7 separate regions of the Homo sapiens genome follow, and all the other regions are linked to region 1. Evidence: promoter capture Hi-C in 16 types of primary human blood cells and fetal thymus (Javierre and others, 2016). All regions are on one chromosome and are shown on one strand. The core of a region is centred on a gene start or on the middle of the fragment in contact, and the rest is flanking DNA. Distances in the headings are between cores, read along the strand shown.

Region 1 (3,225 bases), core at 375-2,874:
CAATGTTTTTAGGGCTCTGCACCTCTAAGAACAAGCAGTTTCATGACATTTCACAAGCACATCACCTACTCACAGTTTGAATATCCAAACAAACCCCATTAAAGGTCTAGAGTCAAGTCACAATGAACTGAACATTTCTCCCCTGACTCAGGGTAAACAGGAAGTATAATCTTCAATCCTAGCTGCAGGTTATCAGGAAAAACAGTGGATTCAAACAGTCACCTAAAATCAAGACACTCTTTAAAAAGCCCTTATTTTGTTCCTGCTAATGAAGCCCCCAACTCCTGTAGCCAAGACCCACTATTACAAACAGACCCCAAATGTTCGCAAAACTCTTCAAACATGGTCACAGAGGAAATGGATTGCTTTACTTACCCAACAAATGTTCAAGCAACCGTCTCATTTTTCCACAGTTAGGAAGAGAGAACAGGCTGGCAGATTTGGGACTTGATCAAAAAGGAAATTTTTTTAAACAGTTACATGGTATTATTAAAAACACACACAACAACAACAACACAACCCAACAACTGAATATGGAATGCTGTCATGAGCCACAGACATGATTTTATTTCCTCTACACTCCATGACACAGGAGAAGAGAGGAGGATACAATGTATAAAAGGGACAGGAAAATGAAAACAAGGATAAAAGGTAACATTAGTTCCTTGAAAATCATGCAAGAGTAGAAAGCTAAGGGATTCAGAATCCTTGCAGATTTTTTTTTTTTTTTTTTTTTGCAGGATGTTGTCCAAGATCTCTCCCCCCACCCCCCAGTCCCCATCCCTACTCCAAAAAACTTCCTCCAAAGCCTAGAAAACACTTTCAGAAACATTTGCTGGCTGTAGGCTGGCTTGCAGAACACTCTGTAGCAACCTAAGTCAGGAAAACAGGCTGAACAATGTAGTTTCAAGTGCAGAAGCTCTGTAGAATAAGAGAAGACCGTGTACAGACACCACCACCCACCTAGGCCCCAGGAGCTAGACTCTCCTTAGCACTGCTCTGCTGAGGGCACAATTCTTTTGCAAACACGCTCCTCTCTTGTCAAAACTTATCCAGCCTTCCCAGAACCTCTTTGGAGAGGCAAACTTGCCTGCTCTGCTGTCTGCCATGAGCTCTCCTTGGAGAGGAGCCTGTTTGCTTACCTTCCATTTTCTTCCCCCAGCAGGGCATGTGGCAAAAGAGAAGACAATAGTGCAGGGGTGGGAGGGGGGGAACTGCTCAGAGAGAGAGAGAGGGGAAGAGAGAGGGAAGAGGGAAAGAAAAAAAAAAAAAGAAGGAAAAAAAAAAGCTTCTTTTTTGGCATACCAGGATCTAGCTTCAAACTCTTCCAGAAACACCATGCCCTGGTGGAAGGAAAGGTGTGCCAGGCCCTTGCCAGTTTGCAAAATCAAGCTATGGCTAATGGCTACTGAGCCATGTGACCCAAGAAAGCAAAAAAATTCTCTCTAAACAGTTCCAAGTTAACATAAGTGCTCTGGGGGTGAGTGTGGCACGGCCAGCCACAGAGAAATCACACTGCTCGCCCACAATTCGGATGTCTCAGAGGGAGGGGGAAAAAAGATGGTTAAAAAGTCGAGCTTACCTCTGTGGATGCATTGTTAACACTGTGTAATGTCAATACTTATAAAACATGGAGGACAGGCTCCTAGTTCTCACAGAAAAAGGGTTTGGCACTTCGGCTGATGATCTGGCCGCCTAATAAAAGCTCATCCCCGATTGGCTGCCCCGGCAAATCGGAGTGTAAAGCCGCCCCGGATTGGCTGAAACACTTCCTGAGCGATTATCTTTGTGAGGCTCGGGTGAGCAAGAGCCATCCTGTGCATAGAAAAAGACAGGCTAAGCTAGGCCTTTTGCAGCAAGAAAAACTTGGGAAAGGGGCCCCCACACGCACTTCTCCTGCACCCTGGCTAGATTTCCCGGCACGGGCCAGCCAGGGCAGCCAGCCTGACCTGCTCCAGGAAAGCCTGAGGCCCGGAGGTCCCTGGGAAGGGAGTTTCTTGGAGTGGGCTGGAACGGCTCACCCTCACCTGCCCCCAGAGAAACGGCCCTTGTCCAGGGAGGAAGGCCAGCCTTTTTCTAGAACAGTCCAGCAGGGTGGCTCTCCAAGGGGAAGGGGAAGCTGGGGAGTGGGGAGTCCCGGGGAAACAGCCAAGGGGCCAGAAAAAGGGGCTTGAGGCAGGCCTCTGAGAAGCTGGGGGAAGCAGGCAGCCCGGGGGAGCCCCGAAAAATCAGCAGAGAGCAGCCCTGGCTTCTCAGAGGAGCGAGGAGTAGCTGCTGAGGGGAGGAGGGGAGCAGAGTGGTCAAGTTTGCATAGTCATTGTCCCCATGCCTCCTTGCAAGGCAGGCCAGGGAGCCGTGGGCCTCTCGCGCCCTGCTTAGCCAGTCCTGCAGGCAAAATCAACGTGGGTTCCTGTCGCCCTGCCACGATGCCAAGGGGGACCCCTCTCGGTCCTTACCCTAAGAAAAACCCAAAGCCCTCCTCGCAGGCCACATGCCTGGATCTACAAACTTCCCTTCCCTCCCGGCCCCTCCCCCGCGGCCGAGACCTGCTAAACCTGTCAGTTAAACACAAATCTGACTTCCGTATTAGCCTGCGATGCCTTCGGCTTCCTGCCTGTTAACCCTCTCTCGGACTCGGGGCCTGGCTGGGAAAAACTAGGCCTTGAGATCGCAGCGAAGGCCTGTGGAAAAATACCAGCTGCAGCTCTCCCGGCAGATGCAGAAAGAGAGAGAGAGAGCCGCTGTCTCTCAGCCTTTGCTTCCCAGGGAGGCGTGTACCTTGTGAATCCAGGGCACAGGCAGTGCCTCTCGGGCTGAGAAGCCATTTCAATCCAGAGGGAGACAGAAAGATGGCACGCTCAGCCCGGAAACAAGAGCCCCCATTATGCGTCAGGCCTACCCCCGTAGGTCAGCCCTTCCTGCCACAATCATCCCTGTATGTGTGTGCCTGGGGGAGTTGGGCCCTCCTCGGTGGGCAGACAAATCCCCTGGGCTTCCTAAGGATTCTTGCTTCCATTTATTTGCACAGAGAACGGCTTCTTTTCGTCCCCCAAGGCAGATGGAGCAGCGATTTCACACACAGCCCTCCATTTGGCAGCCCCCCCACCCCCCCATCTCTGGCACCGCTCCCCAGTAAAATATTAACTGGTTGTTCAGAGCTGCTTACAATTCTACCCACTTCAATTGCGTTAGGAGGTCTTTGCTGGTCTCCTCCCTAAAGCTGCC
Region 2 (3,225 bases), core at 198-2,697, 1.9 Mb after region 1:
CTGCACTGTGACTTCCAGGTTTTATTCCCTTACTCCTTGTATACAGTTTGGTCGCTGGTGGCCTAGAGGGTTTGTAAGTTTTACTTCCTTGTGTCTCCTACTGCAGAGTTCTCTGTTGTAAGGTAGACAGCATGATTTTTGCCTTTTGTTTCTGCTGCTCTTTGTCCCTACTTATATGCTTCTCTAAGAAGTTAGTCTCTGGGACAATCTTTCCAATTCTCTATCTTTTGTAGTTGTTTTTAGAGGTGTTTGGCCAAGTCTTAGTAACAAAATGAAGCTTTAGCATCCCTTGCCCCAGTGGGTCTTCCATTTCTAAACCTGCATATTTTCTCATCTGTTCTTTAAGCCTATTTAGGAATTCATGGGTCCTTCATCCATCCCTTGTATGTTGAATGCTTGGGAAATACTCTCAGTTCGGGATACTGATGGAACATTTTGACCGGTAGGGTGTTAATGTTCCCAGACTACCAAAGCAGCCCTATGGATCATGGTTCTTCTCCCAAGAAGGGAATGCCTAAAATGGACATAAGCTCGGCCCATACAACTGGGGTCCTAAAAAATGATTTGATCTGCTACCCCATAAGGGTCATCTAACAAGGGCTTGAGTTTTTCTTTTTTTTTAGATTTTGTACTTCTGAGCTGGTTAAGGGGGCATTTACGAAGCTGATGCCTCCTCTCCCAAGGGGCACTTCTTCAAGGGGAAGAGAGTTGGGGGCAATTCTTTGGAGGTGGAAAGGGGAAAGGGAAGTTCTGAGTATCCTTTTTACATTGTTCTATTTCATGCTGTAGGGCTTAAGTGTGTGGCTAGGGGGAACATGGGGTATTGATTCAGGATTATATGGGGGAGGGACTGATGAGTGGGGGGATCCTGTGTACCGGCTTGATGCATGGGGTTTGGCAGAGGCAAGTGGTCTGGTGGGTCCCATATGTTAGCAGGCTGTTCGGGGGTAGAGACCTTACTCCTTTCAGAGGAGTTGGCTTCTGGCTTGCTTCCTGTAGTTATGTTTAGTCCTTTCACTATCCTTTTAGCATGAGAACCTAGGGGACTGTCAGAGGGGATGTTACTGTCATTAATTTGATCCTTTCTATTTACTGTCTTTCTTGAGGTATTTTGCATAATGAAGGTTTGGTGTGAGGCCCAAAATTAGATTTATTGCCTTTCCTCATAGGCTCAACCTCCCTTACTGGAGATTTCTTGCCATTCCTTTCTCTAGAGGGTCAGCCCCTGGCTACTGGAGATTTCTTGCACTCTTCTCCTTTTGCTTCATCCTTCTCTGGCTGCTTCCCAGGAGGGAATATTTCAGGTCCTCCTTAGCATTGGTGTGTCAGTATAAGCCCCATGACAGGAATCCACCATAAGCTATACGAGGTGACCATGGAATCACAGATCCGGAATCATCGCTCGCTTCGCACTCAGTTGTGCGTCTCATTGACACACTTTCAACCTCTAAAATGCCCTGACCACCAAGGAAATACTTTGTCGCCCCTGTGACTTTTCTTAACTTGGTCTGTGCAGTTACCTGGTCACCGCAGTATGTGAGGATCCTTTCCGCCTGTGTTGCTGAGAGTCTGGGTTTATGTGTCACCTTGGGTGGGACCCAATCTCCTGTTTGTGAGGCCACCGCAAAGAGGTGGTGGGATGCCTCTCCTCAAGAGAGGTGATCGTGGGCTTCTCCTGAAGGAGAACGGTAATCCCAGATGAGCTCCCAAATTGTTGGCAATAAGAGCTCAGAGTTGCAAAGAAAATGATCTCCAAAAGATTTCTCAGCAAGGCAGATTTACTTCTGCAGAATGGTGCTGCTTGCACTCCTGGTCACAGTGAGAGCACCCCGAACAAAGGAGGTGAAGTGGTTTTTATCCCTAACACAGCTAGTTCCTGCTTCTGTGTTCTATCCCCATTGGCTAGAGTCCAATCTAAACTAGTCCTGATTGGCTATTTTAAACAGGAGGGGTGTGGGTTACAGCAGTGGGAAGAGCAGTTGCCACGAGCGAGGGAGACTTTTCCAGATAAGGAACAAATGCGGGTTACAGGTTGGGATTGGTGGGAGAAATGTTTACAGAATGGGTAATTAGGAGTGGGAAGGTATGAGGAAGTTGACCTTAAGAACAAAGAACAAGGAAGTTAAACTTTGAAGAGAAACCCATCATACCTAACAGTCTTGTAAGAAAGGATGACAAAGTGATTGAACATTGGGTGGAGCTAATTTTCCTTGGCCAATTCACTTAGTAAGATAAGGAGCTCCAAATCATATTTAAGTTGGGAGTCAATTGATTTTACTTAATTCTTGTGAGGTTCAGTTATAAGATTCATCATACTACTACCATGAGCCATCCTCAGCTCCTTGTTACATGGGCCTGTTAACATGGCAGCTTTGTCTATAAGCAAACCCAGGAGAGAAAGACATAGCAGAGATGGATGTTTGAAGTCTATACCTTCCACCCCCTTTAAAGAGAAAGTAACACCACTCCTTTTCTGTGTCCCTTGGGGACACTACCTCCATGTCTGGTCACATGGCTGGACTTTACAGCAGATAAGCATACTGTGGCCTGAGACCATGATTGTATGCTTTCCTTCTGCTGACCTTTACAATCCCTCAATAAATTGAGCTAACACAGGGAAGCTTTTTTACCAAATAACTGTGTTGCATCATCCTCCAGTTTGCCTGGTGTCCTTAATCAATGGAAGGGGAATAAGCAAACTGAGTTTTCTTACACCTTTTGAGTATAGTGTTTTTGCCATCATAGATGTGGCTCCTCATAATTCTCCAACTTTTATATTAAAAAACCAAAACCTCAAAAATTGTAGTTCATGTCAGTCAGTGATGACTCATCTTAGAAGTATTTTGTTTTTGGATGTGTGAATGTGCATAGTTCTTAAAGTCCAACATTCATGTAATAAGACATCTTGCATATAACAATGACCCTTACGTCTAAGATGTTAAATAGATCCTAAGCCTGGTATAACTTTATTCAAGTATCCTTATTTGCCCCTAAAATGTCTTTAATACACATTACTTGGGTTATTTCTTGAATGAACATACAGGTATCCCAATTTCTGTTTTTAAGAGAATGGGGTCTTGCTCTGTCACCCAGGCTGGAGTGCAGTGGTGCAGTCATGGCTTACTGCATCCATGATCCTCCTGCCTCAGCCTCCCAAGTAGATGGGACTGAAAGCACACACTGCCATCCCTGGCTAATGTTTTCATATTTTGTAGAGTTGCAGCC
Region 3 (3,225 bases), core at 533-3,032, 1.9 Mb after region 1:
CTTTTTTTTGTATCTAAATATACACATCTAGAGTTTATAAATGCAACTCTTTAGACTCTCTCACCCTTCCACCCTCCTCAAATACTGCCACCGTTTTGAGGCCGGAGACAATGGAATTTGCTTACCTAAAAAGCTCCGCCCCTTGATGGCGTCACACGAAACCAACCACGCCCCATATTGCCGCATGCGCACTCTTAAGAGGTCGAACGGGGAGGGCGGCAGGGGCTCTGGAACGGAAGTGACGCATGGTACTTGCGCAAAGACGACGAGGAGGCTGCGAAAAGTTAAGGGCCGGACCGCAGGCTGTGCTCGCTTCCGGAAGTGGCTTCTGCGACAACATGCTTGCGGACCTCGGCTTAATCGGAACCATAGGCGAGGATGACGAGGTGCCGGTGGAGCCCGAGTCTGACTCCGGGGACGAGGAAGAGGAGGTATGAGCACGGTTCTGGTCTTTGGGTTTCCTTGACTGCTTCCCTTCCTCGCGATTCCTCAGGTCCCTGTCCCCGAATCCTCATCATCCCCTGCCAGCCCCGGAAGTTTCCCGAAAAGGATCTCACCGGGACCCCAAGATCTTCCTCAGTTTCCCCGCCACTAGGTTATCTCTACGTCCGCCTGCTTCTTTGGCCATGTCGTTCCCTGTCTCCTTGCTGAACTCAGTATCTATTCACTGAACTGATATTTAACCACGCCCTGTGTAAGAGACGGCAGGTTTCTTACACCTTGTAAGAGGTGAAGTCAGCCATGGTTCCTGCTCAAGGAGCCATGGTTAGCTGTCCTTTCGTATGTTCATCGAGCCAGTGTTTATTGAATACTTAACGCCTGCTAGACTTAGTGTTAAGCGTTGGGGGCGTAGCAATGAACAAGGTGAGTGCCACTCTCCTGAAGCGTATGGTGGTGTGGGGGCTTGCAGACATTAAGCAGTATGGCAATTAAAGAGGTATTGGTGTTCTGAAAAGGATGCTTGCCCTTCAAACATTCAGCCCAGATGTTGTCCCCTCTGCACTCTCATCTGTCCGCCTGATAGGTTTATCCAGATGTCCCATGGCCTCTACAAATTCAACTCCTCCAAAGATGAACTTGTGTTCACTCTCATCCTGTTCCCTTCTCAAGCCAGAAACCTTAGAGTTATTCTTGACAGTTTTTTCTTCCTCACCGCCGCCAGTGCTCTGCAAGCTAGCTCATGAATCTCTCTTAAGCTTCTCCCGCCTCTCTCCATTCACACTGTACCCACCCTAGCTCCGGCTACTGCTGTCTCATGCTTGCACACCAGCACACCTGCAGTCCAAACATACTTCATCTTCATCTCTTTATCTTGAGCACTTCCAGTGTATTCTTCGCTTAGCAGCAGAGGGATCTCTGCGATACAGTCACGTTAGAGACCTCCCTTGCTTAAAACTCTCCAGCCTGCTGGTAGAGACCCCCGGGCCTGTCCACCTTGCAAAGACTCCTCAGGCAGCGTCTGGGTCCCGTACACTGTCGCCATTTCCCCGATGTCCCCTGTGGGCGCGGGCGGCCACCCAGGCCTGCTGGCTGCGGCCCCCTCTCGGACAGGCCTTGGCTCAGCCCGCTGCGTGGGAGGTCATGGGCCAGTCCCCGAGGAGCCAGGCCCCTGTACAGTGCCCGGTCACACCCATGATGCGGGGTGTGTTTGTCACACCCATGATGCGGGGGGAATTGTTTGTGTTTGTTTTTCAAGAAATGATTCAAATTGCTAAAAACAAAACAAAACAAAACAAAAAAAACTCTCCAGCCTGCTTTCACGTGGCTTTCAAGGTCCTCACGATCTTGTCCTTTCCACCTTGACTTTCATCTCTCACAGCTCTCCTCTTCATGACCAACACTCCAGTCTCATTCACTTCATTTTTTTTTAAGACAGAGTCTTGCTCGGTCGCCCAGGGTGGAGTGCAGTGGCGCGATCTCGGCTCACCGCAGCCTCCCCCTCCCGGGTTCAGGCAATCCTCCTGCCTCAGCCTCCCTAGTAGCTGGGACTACAGGCATGCGCCACCACGCCCGGCTAATTTTTGTATTTTTAGTAGAGACAGGGTTTCACCATATTGGCCAGGCTGGTCTTGAACTCCTGACCTTGTGATCCACCCACCTCGGCCTCCCAAAGTGCTGGGATTACAGGCGTGAGCCACCACACCCGTCTTTTTTGTATTTTTAGTAGAGACTGCGTTTCATCATGTTGGTCAGGCTGGTCTTGAACTCCTGACCTTGTCTGCGTGCCTTCGCCTCCTAAAGTGCTGGGATTACAGGTGTGAGCCACTGTGCCTGGCCCCTTCTTGCTTTCTATCATTCTTTATCTCAGCCCCAAAGTCACTCTGTCTCTTACTCTTCCCAGGGGCCCATTGTGCTGGGCAGACGACAAAAAGCTTTGGGGAAGAACCGCAGTGCTGATTTCAACCCTGATTTCGTTTTCACTGAGAAGGAGGGGACGTACGATGGCAGCTGGGCCCTGGCTGATGTCATGAGCCAACTCAAGAAGAAGGTGAGACTGACAGTGATGGACAGCTCCAGACTTTGGGCTATTAAGATTGGACTGTGAGTTTCAGGGCCTAGCCCTGACCTGACTGACCATCTGTTTACATTCAGCAGATACTACAACTCCTTTGAAAATAACTGGTTAAAAAAAAACAAAAGAAAATATCTGGTATACTTTTGATGAGATGGGCACAGGGATCACAAATGACTCACTGTCTTTTTTTTTTTTTTTTTTCTGAGTCTGCTTGCTGGGGAGACTCCTCTTTAATACCAAACAAAGTATGAGCACTTGCCAGGTGGTCTCCGGTGGTGTCACTGTGCAGTGTCCCTGGTTCCCACACAGCACAGCCAAAGCTACCACAGATGTCATTGTCATCTGTTTGTTTGCCAAGATCCCATGCCTTTCTGTGAATCTGGTTAAACTAGAAGATGCATCTAAGTTATTTTCCATTTCATGTCTTCAAAGAGAAATATTGCCTGTCCAGAACAGTTTAATCCAGGCTTTGCTGGTCCTTACTCTGATTGAAGTAAACCAGCATTGCCTTTTCTTTTTTTTTTTGAGACAGAGTCTCTCTCCATTGCTTAGGCTGGAGTGTAATGGCGCCATCTCAGCTCACTGCAACCTCTGCCTCCTGGGTTTAAGCGATTCTTGTGCTTTAGCCTCCCGAGTTGCTGGGATTACAGGTGCCCACCACCACGCCCAGCTAATTTTTTGTAGTTTTTTTTTGTTGTTTTTGAGATGGA
Region 4 (3,225 bases), core at 257-2,756, 1.8 Mb after region 1:
CTCTTAACAATGAAAGCTACAAGCAGAAGAGAAGTGTGACCTTAAAAACTTCCACACAGCCGAAGAACAGTGGCAGAACAGACTGAAGCACGTATCTTCGCGGAACAGAAGAAAACTTCCACACAAGCAATACTGCAACACGGAGGCGGGGCAAGGGCTTAAAAGGAAAGTCAGCCAACAGGGAGGGGTGAATATAAGCAAAGCTTCCGTGAAAAAAAACTTATCGAGGTGTAGAGCAAGACAAGACAGACAAATTTTTCCATCTCCGTACACCCCCCTTCAGAGCCCAACACACAGCAAGTGCTCTAGATAGGTTTGCTCAACTCAAGGGAAGCTTCTGCCAGCAACTTTCCCAGAAATGGAATGACAAGAAGAAGCTGGATGATGGCGGGGCGGGGAGAAATGGACAGGTTGCTCATCCTGCGGGAGATGGTGAATATCCTGCAGTTGCCTAAGCGGAGATGGAAAGAAACAGCATCCATCGTTTACAGACTGTCAACTACAGTGTCCCAATTAAGCGTACGCCCCTTTCAGATGTTAACAACTGAAAACAATGCCCTGGCTCTGGACATGGGCACGCGGAACACTGCAGCCTCTAAGAAACCCAAACGGATAGGTAGGTCAACTTCTATCCACTCTGCCCATTAAATTATACCTTCATATCACGCTAATAAATTATGCAGACGGTTTACTGGGACACGCTGTGGGTCTGGCACTCTGATAAGCGCTTTACACGCCCCATTTCACTGAACCTTAAGAGGCAGGGACGGTATTAGCAGCCCCTTTTCCAACCAAGACACAAAGACTTTTTAAGTGTCTTGCCTAACGGGGCAGAGCCGGGTTCGGCACCCGTTTTGGACACCTGGGCCGTGCTCTTAACCACTAAGCTACAGACCTGGGCCGGCGACACTGAGAGGCTCCAGCCCTCGGGGACCTGAAGCAGGGACCCCCCCCCCCCCCCGCCTGCGCCCCAGCCCCGGGAATAACTTCGGCATCCCCGCGCGCGCCATGCGGGACGAGGAAAGGCGGCCGCAGCACCTGTTTGTGGCACCGGTGAGGGCTGGAGGGGATGGGGGCGCCCGGGGCCAGGCCTCAGGGCGCCCCGAGGCGAGGGAACGCAAGAGGACCCGCCTCCTCCGGGAAGGCCCCGCGGGCTAGAGAGAGGCCCGGGAGAAGGCGGAGGGGTGCGCGGGCCCGCCGAGGCCTAGGCCCCACCCGCCGCCCACCTCCCCACCGCGGCGGCGCCCGCGAGGGCCCCACCAGGCCCGGCCCGGCCCGGCCGCCTCACCTGGCTGCTGCTCCGAGCTCGTCCCCCGGCCGGCGGTCCTGGGCGGTGGCGGCGAGGAGGGGAAGGAAGAAGGAAAAAAGGGAGAGGAAGAAGGGACGAAGGGAGGGAAGAGGCGGAGTGGCCGTGGAGGAGGCGGGCGCCGCCGGGCCGGGGGGGGGAGGCGGTCAAAGGAAGCGGGAGCCGAGAGAGACGCGGCAGCCGCCGGCGCAAACGCTGAAGAGCCGCTCAGGCGCCCGCAGCCCGGCAGGAAGTGACGGGGGAGGGGCAGGCGCCCGCCCCCGGCCCCCGCCCGCCTCCAGGCCCGGCCCCGGCCCCACCCCCACCCACGGTCCGAACCACAAGTTCCGGCTGGCACTGCGGCGGAGCCTGCGCTCGCAAGGCACGCCGGGGGCCCAGCGGGAGGAGCGCCCTGTCCCGCCTGGACCGCAGCGGCCCGTCCTGAGTCCCGGGGCCTGCCGGGAGTTGTAGTTCTGGTGGGAGTTTCGCGCTGCCTGCTGGACTCGAAGCGGGTCTGGGAGAACCCAGCCTACCTTCTTTCCTCCTCCACTTCCTTTTTCCTTCCTTGCTGTCGCTTCTTCCTCTTGTCCTGCCTCTGGCCTTCCTTTCTCTCCTTCCTGCAGTTGTTTCTTCCTCCATCTGTAAATGTTCATTAAATGCTTGCCATATGCAAGGCATTGCTCCAAGAGCTAAGAATGTAGTGGTGAACTGACAAAAATCCCTGCCCTCGTGGAGCTTACATTCTTGTGTAAGTAAAATACACAATAAATAAAATTGAAAAATGTGTAGTGAGATAAAAGACAATGGCCCGGGCGCGTTGGCTCAGGCCTCTAATCCCGGCACTTTGGGAGGCCGAGGCGGGCGGATCACTAGGTCAAGAGATCGAGACCATCCTGGCTACCACGGTGAAACCCCCGTCTCTACTGAAAATACAAAAAATTAGCCGGGCGTGGTGGCGGGCGCCTGTAGGTAAACAGCTACTCGGGAGGCTGAGGCAGGAGAATCGCTTGAACCCGGGAGGCGGAGATTGCAGTGAGCTGAGATCGCGCCGCTGCACTCCAGCCTTGGCGACAAAGAGACACTGGTCTCAAAAAAAAAAAAAAAAAAAAAAAAAAAAAAAAAAAAAAAGACGAGAAGTGCCAGATTACTATTTATTTCACCCAGACCTAGATAAACTAAGTGGTTTTTAGCAGCTGTATTGTATGGGAGGTTGGAGAGAGGGTGGCCAGTAAAGAATCTTGGCCAGGCGCAGTGGCTCACGCCTGTAATCCCGGCACTTTGGGAGGCCGAGGTGGGCGGATCACCTGAGGTCAGGAGTTCGAGACCAGCCTGACTAACATGGTGAAACCCCGTCTCTACTAGCCGGATGCAGTGGTGGGCGCCTGTAATCACAGCTACTTGGGAGGCTGAGGCAGGAGAATCTCTTGAACCCGGGAGACGGAGGTTGCAGTGAGCCGAGATCACGCCATTGCACTCCAACCTGGGCAACAGAGTGAGACTCTGTCTCAAAAAAAAAAAAAAAAAAAAAAAGAATCTTGAACTTCTGCACACTCAGCGAAAATTATGCTCGCGTTGTGAGAGGTCCAAGAAACTGAGAATGAATGAAGGAACTGCAGGTGCACAGAGCTTCTCTCTCCCGCTCACTCTGGGACTGCCGCCCCACTATTTAAAAATAATTCTCTCTTTCTTAAATGTCTCTCAATCTAATAATTGCTCAATCTCTCTTGCCAACGGAATATAAATTCAAAATACGAGCTGCTGTGTCTGAAGAGGCCCCTCCAAACAAGGCTTTGGAGCCTTAGCGAAGCCTGGGAGGACACTTGCCTCCTTACATTGCTTCTTGTGAAGTGCAATGACACTGAATTTCAGAACACCAAAAATAGTCAAAGGACTTTCACCGTCCCTTTAGTGCCCATCCAAGACAGTAGTAAGCAACATTC
Region 5 (3,225 bases), core at 522-3,021, 1.7 Mb after region 1:
ATAAATTTTATCTTTTTTCAGAGACAGAGTCTTACTCTGTTGCCCAGATTGGAATGCAATGGCATGATCATAGCTCACTGCAGCCTTAAAATTCTGAGCTTAACCAGTCCTTCTGCCTCAGCCTCCAGAGCAGCTGAGACTACAAGTGCTCGCCACCATGCCTGGCTAATTTTTATTTATTGTAGAGACAGGGTCTCACTATGTTGCCCACGCTGGTCTTGAAATCCTAGCCTCAAGTGATCCTTCCGCCTCGGCCTTCCAAAGCGCTGGGATTACAGGCATGAGCCATTCTGCCAGGCCAGAACAAATCTAAAAATTCACTTTCTTGAAGTACTTTTGAATAAACAAATTTAATTGTGGCAGTTAAGTTGGTCATTTGTTCATCTGACATTCATGCAACTGAGTTCCCACATTATGTTGGGGCTGCTAATGATTGATCTGAAGGGATAGTCTCCAGTCTTGACTGGAAACTCATGTTTTGCTGGGTGACTGACATGTTGTGACTTATCCTTTAGTTCATACAACAAATGCTTACTAAATATGTACTGTGTGCCAGGTAATGCTGAAGGTCCTGAGCATACAGACGAAAGTCCCTGCCCTCAGGAGCTTGCAGTCTAGTGTGTGTATGAGACGACAAAGAAGTTTATTTCAAATGAGGGTAATTGCTAACACAGTAAAACAAGGATGATGTAGATGGTAATCGTAGAAGGCCTTTTTGAAGAGTTGACAGTGGGCTGAGTGCTGAATGGTGTCCATTATCAAATTAGAGGATGAGCATTATTATGGTCAGGGAGAACTCTTGTGGCCAGTTTGTAGAACAGAAGGCTTTTGTGCCTGGAATGTAGCAAGAGCCAGGAGGAGGTAGGAGATGAGGTCAGTAGATACCAGATTGCTTAGACCCTGCTGTGGTAAGGGATTTGGTGGTGGTGGTGGTGGTGGTGGTTGTTTTGGAGATAGGGTCTCACTCCCATTGCCCAGTCTGTAGTGCAGTGGCCTGATCACAACTCACAGCAGTCTCAATTTGCTGGATCTACAGGTGTGTGCCACCACACCTGGCTAATTTTTTGTATATTTAGTAGAGACAGGGTCTTGCTGTGTTAGCCCAGGCTGGTCTGAAGCCGGCTGAAGCAATCCACCTGCCTTGGCCTCCCAAAATGCTGGGCTAACAGGCGGCAGCCACTGCACCTGGCCAGGAGTTTGGGTGTTTAAGACAAGTAATTATGAGGAATCTAAGGAGTTTTAGTTGAGAAATATACAAATGCTAGAGAAACATAATGAAGAAAGTGAAATGCAGATTTATTAAGAAGTGTATTTTTAAAAATCAAGAAAATAAGCCCTGTGTGGTGGCATATGCCTGTAGTCCCAGCTATTCCAGAGGCTGAGGCAGGAGGATTGTTTGAGCTCAGGAGTTAGAATCCAATCTGGACAATACAGTGAGACCCCCTGTCTCTCTTTTTTTTTTTTTTTTTTTTTTTTAAAGACAAAATAGATCTGTAAATCTGCCCCTGCACCCTCCCCACCCAAGTTTCTAACAATCTGCCTTGCATGAATCCCCAAAGGTAGAATAAATTTGCATATGGCAAAGAAAGGCCAATTTCCTTTAACTCAGATACACTGATGTTAATGATTTAACTTGACCACAGCAAACTAACTTTTTTTTTTTTTTTTTTTTTTTTTTTTGAGACTGCGTTTCTCTCTTGTTGCCCAGGCTGGAGTGCAATGGCGCAATCTCGCCTCATTGCAACCTTTGCCTCCCAGGTTCAAGCAATTCTCCTGCCTCAGCCTCCCAAGTAGCTGGGATTACAGGCATGTGCTACCAGGCATGGCTAATTTTTAGTAGAGACGGGGTTTCACCATGTTGGCCAGGCTGGTCTCAAACTCTTGACCTCAGGTGATCTGCCCCTCTCAGCCTCCCAGAGTGCTGGGATTATAGGTGTGAGCCACCACACCTGGCCCAAACTTTCATGATTTCATAACTGATCCACCATTTCAATACAGAAAAAAGGAATAGGAAAATAAATGGATTAAATCATTGCTTTCCAAAGTGTGTTCTATTGAAAAGGAGTTCTATAGCCAAATAATGGGAGAGACTGGGCAATCCTCCCACCTTAGCCTCCCAAGTAGCTAGGACTACAGGGCCACACCACCACGCCCGGCTAATTTTTTGTATTTTTAGTAGAGATGGGGTTTTGCCATGTTGCCCAGGCAGGTCTTGAACTCCTGGGCTCAAGCGATCGTCTGCCTCAGCCTCCCACCAGTGGAGACTCTGGATTAATTGATGTGAACCAGTAACTTTGTGAGTTTAAAGTGCTTTGTATTGTGAATCTCCAAAGTGGGGCAGGATATAATGTGTAGCATTTTCCAAACTTGTGATATAAAAAACCATAAAGGGTATAGCCTCTCAATAGATTGTATGTGTGGTTTAATGGGACTTGATTTTCACACCTATAGAGTGGAACACCTGGATTAGAGGGAGTGATTAGGTAGGTGGTGGGATCTACTCAGTCAGAACATTAGCTTCCTGTGATAAACACATTTTCTAATTAAGGGGAAGGACTGCAGCATGTAGAATACAGATAATTCTCTTTAGAAGGTTGGGGTTTCTGGCTGTTGGGGAGTGCCCTGCATAAGCACAGCATTAGATAATATTTTCTTATTTTCTGGCTCCCCACCGCTCAGTTGTCCTCTGGCTGCCCTCTTTTCACATCAGCCTTTCTATTGTGTTGTGAGTGCTTTCACTCTTGGTCAGCCGTCTGTCATTTCCACCTAAGAGGCAGCCTTGGGTAATAGAAAGAGGGTAGACCTACGGAGTTGGACTGATTTAAATCTGATCTTTATTTATTAACCATATATAGTTAATATATGTCAACCTGAGTGCCCTTCTTTGTGTGTAAAATCATTGTGTGGAATAAATGATATGAAGCCTATGAAAACATCTAGCATCGTGTGCCTGGTTCATACATGTGACACTTCCCCCATTCTGCAAACCATTACCAGCCCAAAGGTCCTCTACTCCACTTTCATTACATTTTTACCCACTTAAGAAAACCTTCATGACTTCCCCATACATTAAATCATGGCACTCTTCAGCCAAGTATGGAGGAACCTATATGATCTGGTCTTGATCTCCTAGCCCACTATTCTCTCTTCCCATCTCTGTTACTTTGCTCTCACAATTCATTTTGGCAGATGCGCCCTCATCCTACTTTGCCTATTCAGATACAC
Region 6 (3,225 bases), core at 357-2,856, 1.6 Mb after region 1:
TTTTTTTTTAGTCCTTATGTACCTCTTGGGAGCTTGGGAGCTCCTGTGATCAATGTGTAATTTTAAGACAAAGCCAGGAGCCTGATTAGAAATGGTTGATAGTCACAATGAGCTGTTAGGGAGAGTGCCAGTGAATTCACATGTTTTTAAAACAGTATTCTAAGATTCTCACCCAAGGATATAGTTACTTATGTGTACAACAATGTATTTAAAAGGATATTTGTTGCAGTTTTAGTTGTTCTAGGGAAAAGTTTGGGTTAAAAAGAGCTAGATGTCCCAACAATATAAGAGATTGCTACTTTTTTTAAAAAGTATGGTACAGCATTTTTTAGAATGTTATGTGGCCATTTAAAATAATGTTGTGGAAAAAAAAGACAGGCAGATAGTATGTGCTCTCTGATGGAAGTACACAATACTACCTAAGAAATGTTCTAGCCCCAACTCAAATCTGAATTGATTCAAGCCTATATTGCCAGTTTACAGGAAATACAGTGGACAGAGAAGCATGTTAGATATGAGGGTGCAGCTTGGAAATTCTAGGTGTGACAGACCTGCAGAGCAGATGACCAGGTTTTTCAGCAAAAAAATTGCAAGAAAAATAAGGGAGGAGGGTTACCTATGAATTAAAAGAGATTTCAGAAAAGAAGATAAAAGATGATTTTAAAGACTATTGTGGGAAAATGGTCACAGTAAAATTACAAGTTGTTATAAGAGATTGTGAGGCATTGTCTCTCGTGGCAAAATACACAGAGAATGCAGTTTGAAAGGATAGACCAAAGCATTAACATTCTGTCTGAGAAATAGAATTATGGAAACTGTTTTATTCTTTTTTTTCTTAATTTCTAATTTTTTCTGCCATCTACATGTATTACTTTTTTGTTTAGAGAGAAAACTGTGAAAGAATAGAGATGAGGCTGTGGAGAATGTAAAGGACAGTTTGACATAGAAAATTGCTGTCATCCTTCTTCCCCATGTGGACCACATGGCTCAGATTCAGAGTAAAGGCTCTAGAGCCTGGCAACTGGGGTCTGATTTGGGGCTCCACCTCTTCCTGCCTGGATGGCACAGGCAGGTTACTTAGTCACCGAGTCCCACCTTCTTCATCTCTACAATCTTCACAGGGTGGTTATGAAAATGAAGAGGGCTTGGGACTGTATTTGGCAAGTAATAAGAACTCAATAGTGTTACCTGCTGTCATCTCCGTGGCGTATGGCTTTGCTCCTCTTCACCAGCCTTTCCTCTCTCTGTCACAACTCTGAGTAGTCCATGTTAGAAATAACTGAGTTATGGCTGGGCACAGTGGCTCACACCTGTAATCCCAGAACTTTTGGAGGTTGAGGCAGAAGGATGGCTTGAGGCCAGGAGTTCCAGACCAGCCTGGGCAACATAGCAAGACCCCATATCTTTAAAAAAAAATTATTTTTTTAATTAGCTAGGCATGGTGGTTCATGCCTGTAGTCCCAGCTACTCAGGAGGCTGAGGCAGCAGGATTGCTTGAGCCCAGGAGTTCAAGGCTGTAGTGAGCCTTGATTGCACCACTGTGCTGCAGCCTGGGCAACAGAGCAAGACCTCATCTCTAAAATAAAAAAATATATATTTTGAATTGTGTGCTTTTTAAAATCATTTCCTGCCTTCTAAGGAGCCATAATACGTAGAGAATCAATGAATAGTTGCTTTTTCTTCTAAAACATTTTTTTAGCCTGGGAGGTATTATCAATATGAGGTTCCTGCTGCCAGCCAAGTATATGGCAGAATCTAGAAATGTTAAAAATTAATTAGCTACCTCTGCGGTTGTCAGAAGCCCTGAGAAATCAGCTTGGAACTAATAAGCCCTTGACCTTTCAGTATTGGTGACGTACTTGAGATTCCAGCTGTCCCCAGCTTCTGCAAAAGGGAGGACATTACTAGCTTACTAATAATAATTTAATAGTGTGTGAAGAAATCAGGGGATGATTCTCTTTGGTGGAATTAAGTCTATTTCTCAGTCAAGAAGAAAGCAATTTATAAGTAAAGATACTCGGCAGTGCTCAGTGGTATAGTGGAGTCCTGGACTCTGGGACTGAGTTGTAAGGTCAGCGTAAAAAGCAACACTGAAGTTCAGTCAGAAGTTCCCATGAAAATTCCTTAGGGTTTCCCTGGAGGTCTGTGTGCCATTCCTTGGTAAGTTTCATGTAGCCAGTGTTTCCTCTGACAGAAGTTGGGACCAGTTTCTGTTTCTACAGCTGAGCTTCAGGTAGGAGGGCCCGTGTGCAGATCTGCATTCTCAAGCACCAGAGGCACCCCTCAGGACCAGGAGATCCAGCCTCATCTCCCACTGCATGCCTGATGTAGAGCATATTCTCATTCCTTCAGTTAAACCAATTAACGATTGCCAACAACTTTAAGTGCCAGGGACTTAAGTGTTCAGCAGTGAACAAGACAGAGTTAATGCCCTCTTGGCACCTAAGGCAGGAAACAAACAAATAGATATATGGTATAATGCCAAAAAGTGGTAAGCACTAAGAAAAAAAAAGTATGAGCAGGACATGGTAATGGGAAGGTACGATCTCACAAGAAAGATCTCTTTGAGAGGGACACACATGTCTGAGCTGGGAATTGAAGGAGTGAGCCATGGGGAGACAACATTCCAGGCATAAGGAACAGTGAGTGCCAAGGCCCTGAGGTGGGACAAGAGATGACAAGTTAAAGGAGCAACAGTGAGGCCAATGAGGCTGGTGTCTTGTCGTCTCACGAGGAGGGTGGAAAAAGGAGGTGGGGGTGACTAAATGATGTGCCTATTAAGTGACATGGTGGGAGGAATCCGCCGCCCCAGTCAAATGCTTTTTCTCTCTTTATTGAGAGCTTACTAAATTTGCATAAACATCTATATGGCATAACTCCATTGAACCAACTTTTTTTTAATGACTAACTTAAGATTACAGTGCCCTTTTTCTAGCTGTAAGGTAGGAACTCATTTCTTCATGCCTTCTTTCTCTTAGATCTTGAAATGCATCAGCCAGCTGGAGCTCGCTCAGCTGATAGGAACCGGTGTGAAGACGCGCTACCTGTCTGGATCTGGGCGTGAAAGAGAAGGGAGCCTGAAGGGCCACACATTGGCAGGAGAAGAGTTCATGGGCCTTGGCCTCGGTAAGACACCAGGCCCCACAGCTAACAGTCACGGATTTGCAAGCTAACGGGGATGAAACCCTTCTTGTCTCATCAGGACTGTCCTGTAAACCGTCTCTT
Region 7 (3,225 bases), core at 358-2,857, 1.6 Mb after region 1:
CATAAGCCCATGGCTGCCCTTGGGGGAAGGGGCCCAGGGGACACCACTAATGGTTGCTGTGATAGCATCATTGTGGAATGGAGTGGAAGCTGCCTTGGGGCCAGAGTATCTGTCCCCCAGCACTCATTTGCAGGCTGTGTGACACTGGCCATCTGGGTTTCTTCCCCTGACTCCCAAAGCCCAGGTCCAGTTCACTGCACTGTGAGGGTTCACAGGTTTATAACAGGATAAACTACAGAGAGAGGTCAGTGCTTCCTGGTATACTATGCACAGCTGCGACACTCAATAAACAGAAGTTCACTGAACTGCAAGGTCACTGCTGCTGTGACAGGAGGGTCATATGGATGTGTGTATCTTGCCAGTGGCTGTGGTGAAACCCTGCTTGTGGAGAATAGACATAAACACACCTTCTCTCTCTCCCTCTCTGTCTTCCTTTCACCTCCCCTCTCCCTCCACCCCTTCCATTTCCTATTCTCCCAGCATGTTCTTTCCACTCTTCCTCACCTCCTTCCCCTTCACCTCCTTCCTACACCATTCCTTTTTCCATCTCTTTCCTGTTTTCCTAACTTGTTACTCTCATCTTTTTCTTTCTTTTCTGTTCTTCCTGACAGCTCCCCTTCCTACCTCCTCTCCCTTCACCCTTTCTCCTACTCTTTCCCCTCCTCTCATTTCTACCTCTCTTTCCTTTTCACTTCCCCTCTCCCTCCTGTCTTTCTCCTTTTTCTTTTACCTCTGTGCCTCCCTCTCACCTCTTCCCACACCACCTCATCTCCTCCATAACTAACTCACCTCCTTTTTGTTTGTTTGTTTTTTGAGACAGGGTCTCCTTCTGTGGCCCAGGCTGGAGTGCAGTGGTGCCATCACAGCTCACTGCGGCCTCAACCTCCGAGGCTCAAGCGATCCTCCCACCTCAGCCTCCCCAGTAGCTGGGACCACAAGCAGCGCCACCAGGCCCGGCTGTTTTACTTTTTATTTTGTAGAGAAAGGGTCTCCCTATGTTGCCCAGGCTGGTCTCGAACTCCTGGGCTCAAGCGATGCTCCCGCCTTGGCCTCCGGAAGCGCTGGGATTAGAGGCGTGAGCCGCCGCGCCGGGCCTCCCCCCTTCCCCTCCGCCGCCGCCTTCTCATCGCCCTTCCTCCTTCCTCCTGACGCCCCTTACTCCCGATCACTTCTCATTCATTCACCAGCTTCCAGTCCTCGCTCCCTCACCTCTTTTCTTTCCTACTCGCCTTCTCCTCCTGCCCCTTTATCATCTCTCCTTGTCACCGTTCTTTTTTGCCAATCCTCTCGTTCCCCTTCCTTTCCTCATCTCCTCTCTTACCCACGTCATCTCCATTCTCGTGCTCCCCTTCACCTCCCGTTACCTTGCGCTTCTCTCCTCTCATCTCCATCACCACCTCTCCCCGCTTTCGCCTTTCTTTAGCCCCCGCGTCCCCTATACCCTTCGCCCATGCCCACTCCCCTCCCCACCTTCTCTTCTTCCACCCTCCACCCTCGCCTTCTGTCTCTCGCCCACCTGACTCCGCTCCGCCCCCAGCCTTAGGCTCCGCCCCGCTGGGGGTCACGGGGCCGACGGACGCTAGGCGGCCGTAGCGGCCTCGCCAGTCACGTGGTCACGTGACGCGCTCCAACATGGCGGCGCCGTGGGGCCGAGGTGTCGCTTCCTGACGGGGCGGCGCGGACGGACGCGGCCGGTGCCGGCCGGGACGCCGGGCCCGCAGCCTAGCTCGCCATCTCGCTCACGCCGCCCGCCCGCGGGGCCGTCAGCCCCCGCCGGGCCGGGGCCATGCAGGAGAGCCAGACCAAGAGCATGTTCGTGTCCCGGGCCCTGGAGAAGATCCTAGCCGACAAGGAGGTGAAGCGGCCCCAGCACTCCCAGCTGCGCAGGGCCTGCCAGGTGGCGCTCGGTGGGTGAGCCGCTCCCGCCCTGCCCCGCGCTGGCCTCAGCACGTCGGCCGTTGCCCTATCCTACTCGGCCTTGGCCCGGCCTCCTGGCCTCCGCTTCCCCCCGATCCCGAATTCCACCCTTCCGGCCTCCTCCTCATTATACCCCCGGAGGAAGTGTTGCCCGGGCAGCTCGGGACTGGCCCAAGGTCACCTAGCAAGTTGGTGACAACCAGAGCTTGTTCCTCAGGGTTCCAGCTCAGGGCTTTTGCCACGATTCCTTGTCGCCCTGTTTCCTGGTTCCTCCCCTCACCACCTCCAAGTCCTAGAAACAGTAGCCCTTGCCCCAAGTTTTTTCGTTACCTGAGCTCTGCTGATTGGGGTTCCCCTAGGTGAACAGAGCATGTAGGAAGAGCCGTCCAACTGGTTTAGGGAAACCCCTGATTCTTGTTTTGGAAGTGCCCGTTGGAGAATGTTTTCCTTTGGTTTGGGGATCTCCCATAGCTCTTTCCCTCAAGGAAGGATTGTAGAAGGTGTTCTGGATCTCCCAGGCATTGTAGTGAGCAAGACATCTGCTTATTCCTAGCAGTCCACTAAAATACAAGGTCTTCAGCGCGAAGATACTTGTCTGACTTATTCATTGCTGTATCCCTTGCGCTTGCAACAGTGCCTGGCGCACAGTAGGTGCTCGATAAATATTTGCTGATTGAATGGACCCTCAGATTATGGAAAGAGGGAGAATTCTAACTAATAGTTAAAGGCTTGATAATTGATAGCAAAATCACTATCCTATCTTTCAGTTTTAATCATTTAACAAATATTTATCAAGTGCCCACTGCATACCAGGTACTGAGAATTCAGTGGGGAACAAGACGGACATGGTCCTTACCCCTATGGAGCTTATACTCGAATAGAGGAGACAAAATAATTAATTAAGAAAATAGGTGAGGTATTTTGGAATACTGATAAATACTATTTTGAAAATAAAACAGCAAGATGTGATAAAGAGGGCTTGAGGACTGCTTTCCATGGTCAGGAAAGTAATCTTTTCCAAGAGGAAAAGTAATCAGGTGGTCAGGAAAGTAATCTTTTCCAAGAGGGTGACACTTGAGCTGAATACTGAAAGGCAAGAACTATCCACCATATGGAGTTTCAGAAGAGAGTTCTTGGTGGGAGAATCCATGCATTTGACCAGAGCTGTTTTCAAGCTAATTCACTGCCCCAACGTCTTTGGTTTGGAATCTGTAAAGGCCTGTTTTTCCTAACAAAATGAGCAAATGGAAAGTTTGATTTTTAGTCACATAGTTTGAGATTGTTATCACCTTTCTCCTTTCATTTGCT

Evidence for each region. The method cuts DNA at HindIII sites, captures the fragments that hold promoters and counts their contacts. A CHiCAGO score of 5 or more calls a contact.
Region 2: a fragment that was not itself captured here is called in contact with the fragment with the promoter of ZMYND8 in region 1 in 2 of 17 cell types (fetal thymus and activated CD4 T cells); the score reaches 7.1 in fetal thymus.
Region 3: a contact is called between a fragment that was not itself captured here and the fragment with the promoter of ZMYND8 in region 1, in 2 of 17 cell types (fetal thymus and naive CD4 T cells). The highest score is 5.8, in fetal thymus.
Region 4: a contact is called between the fragment with the promoter of STAU1 here and the fragment with the promoter of ZMYND8 in region 1, in 5 of 17 cell types (naive CD4 T cells, total B cells, naive B cells and 2 more). The highest score is 7.6, in naive CD4 T cells.
Region 5: a contact is called between a fragment that was not itself captured here and the fragment with the promoter of ZMYND8 in region 1, in 1 of 17 cell types (total B cells). The highest score is 5.4, in total B cells.
Region 6: a fragment that was not itself captured here is called in contact with the fragment with the promoter of ZMYND8 in region 1 in 1 of 17 cell types (total B cells); the score reaches 5.5 in total B cells.
Region 7: a contact is called between the fragment with the promoter of ARFGEF2 here and the fragment with the promoter of ZMYND8 in region 1, in 3 of 17 cell types (activated CD4 T cells, naive CD8 T cells and total B cells). The highest score is 7.1, in activated CD4 T cells.

What each region holds. Positions count from the first base shown.
Region 1 is chr20:47,355,075-47,358,299 of GRCh38, forward strand. It overlaps ZMYND8 (zinc finger MYND-type containing 8), which reads right to left and starts at 1,625. Exons shown (of 23, transcript NM_001281775.3): 1 at 1,583-1,625. The coding sequence starts at 1,596. RefSeq lists enhancers at 1,436-1,605, 1,449-2,056, 1,591-1,885, 2,636-2,985, 2,665-3,225 and 2 more. The HindIII fragment of the contact is 2,834 bases long and covers 1,287-3,225 here.
Region 2 is chr20:49,285,359-49,288,583 of GRCh38, forward strand. All of the region lies in intron 3 of ZFAS1 (ZNFX1 antisense RNA 1), which reads left to right. Among named protein-coding and RNA genes, the nearest start is that of SNORD12, 6.3 kb to the left of the region's middle. RefSeq lists enhancers at 946-1,877, 1,878-2,809. The HindIII fragment of the contact is 2,344 bases long and covers 276-2,619 here.
Region 3 is chr20:49,219,111-49,222,335 of GRCh38, forward strand. It overlaps DDX27 (DEAD-box helicase 27), which reads left to right and starts at 306. Exons shown (of 21, transcript NM_017895.8): 1 at 306-431; 2 at 2,342-2,488. The coding sequence starts at 339. It also overlaps a transcript of STAU1 not described here. RefSeq lists an enhancer at 1-619. The HindIII fragment of the contact is 1,176 bases long and covers 1,195-2,370 here.
Region 4 is chr20:49,186,828-49,190,052 of GRCh38, forward strand. STAU1 (staufen double-stranded RNA binding protein 1) reads right to left here and starts at 1,507. Exons shown (of 14, transcript NM_017453.4): 1 at 1,289-1,507. RefSeq lists an enhancer at 251-320 and silencers at 721-880, 1,111-1,780. The HindIII fragment of the contact is 4,529 bases long and covers 333-3,225 here.
Region 5 is chr20:49,051,696-49,054,920 of GRCh38, forward strand. All of the region lies in intron 1 of CSE1L (chromosome segregation 1 like), which reads left to right. Among named protein-coding and RNA genes, the nearest start is that of CSE1L, 7.0 kb to the left of the region's middle. The HindIII fragment of the contact is 7,559 bases long and covers 1-3,225 here.
Region 6 is chr20:48,991,473-48,994,697 of GRCh38, forward strand. ARFGEF2 (ARF guanine nucleotide exchange factor 2) reads left to right here. Exons shown (of 39, transcript NM_006420.3): 22 at 2,979-3,126. Among named protein-coding and RNA genes, the nearest start is that of CSE1L-DT, 53 kb to the right of the region's middle. The HindIII fragment of the contact is 5,000 bases long and covers 1-3,225 here.
Region 7 is chr20:48,920,104-48,923,328 of GRCh38, forward strand. ARFGEF2 (ARF guanine nucleotide exchange factor 2) reads left to right here and starts at 1,608. Exons shown (of 39, transcript NM_006420.3): 1 at 1,608-1,907. The coding sequence starts at 1,787. RefSeq lists silencers at 1,369-1,448, 1,679-1,778, 1,819-1,868 and an enhancer at 2,239-2,318. The HindIII fragment of the contact is 17,186 bases long and covers 1-3,225 here.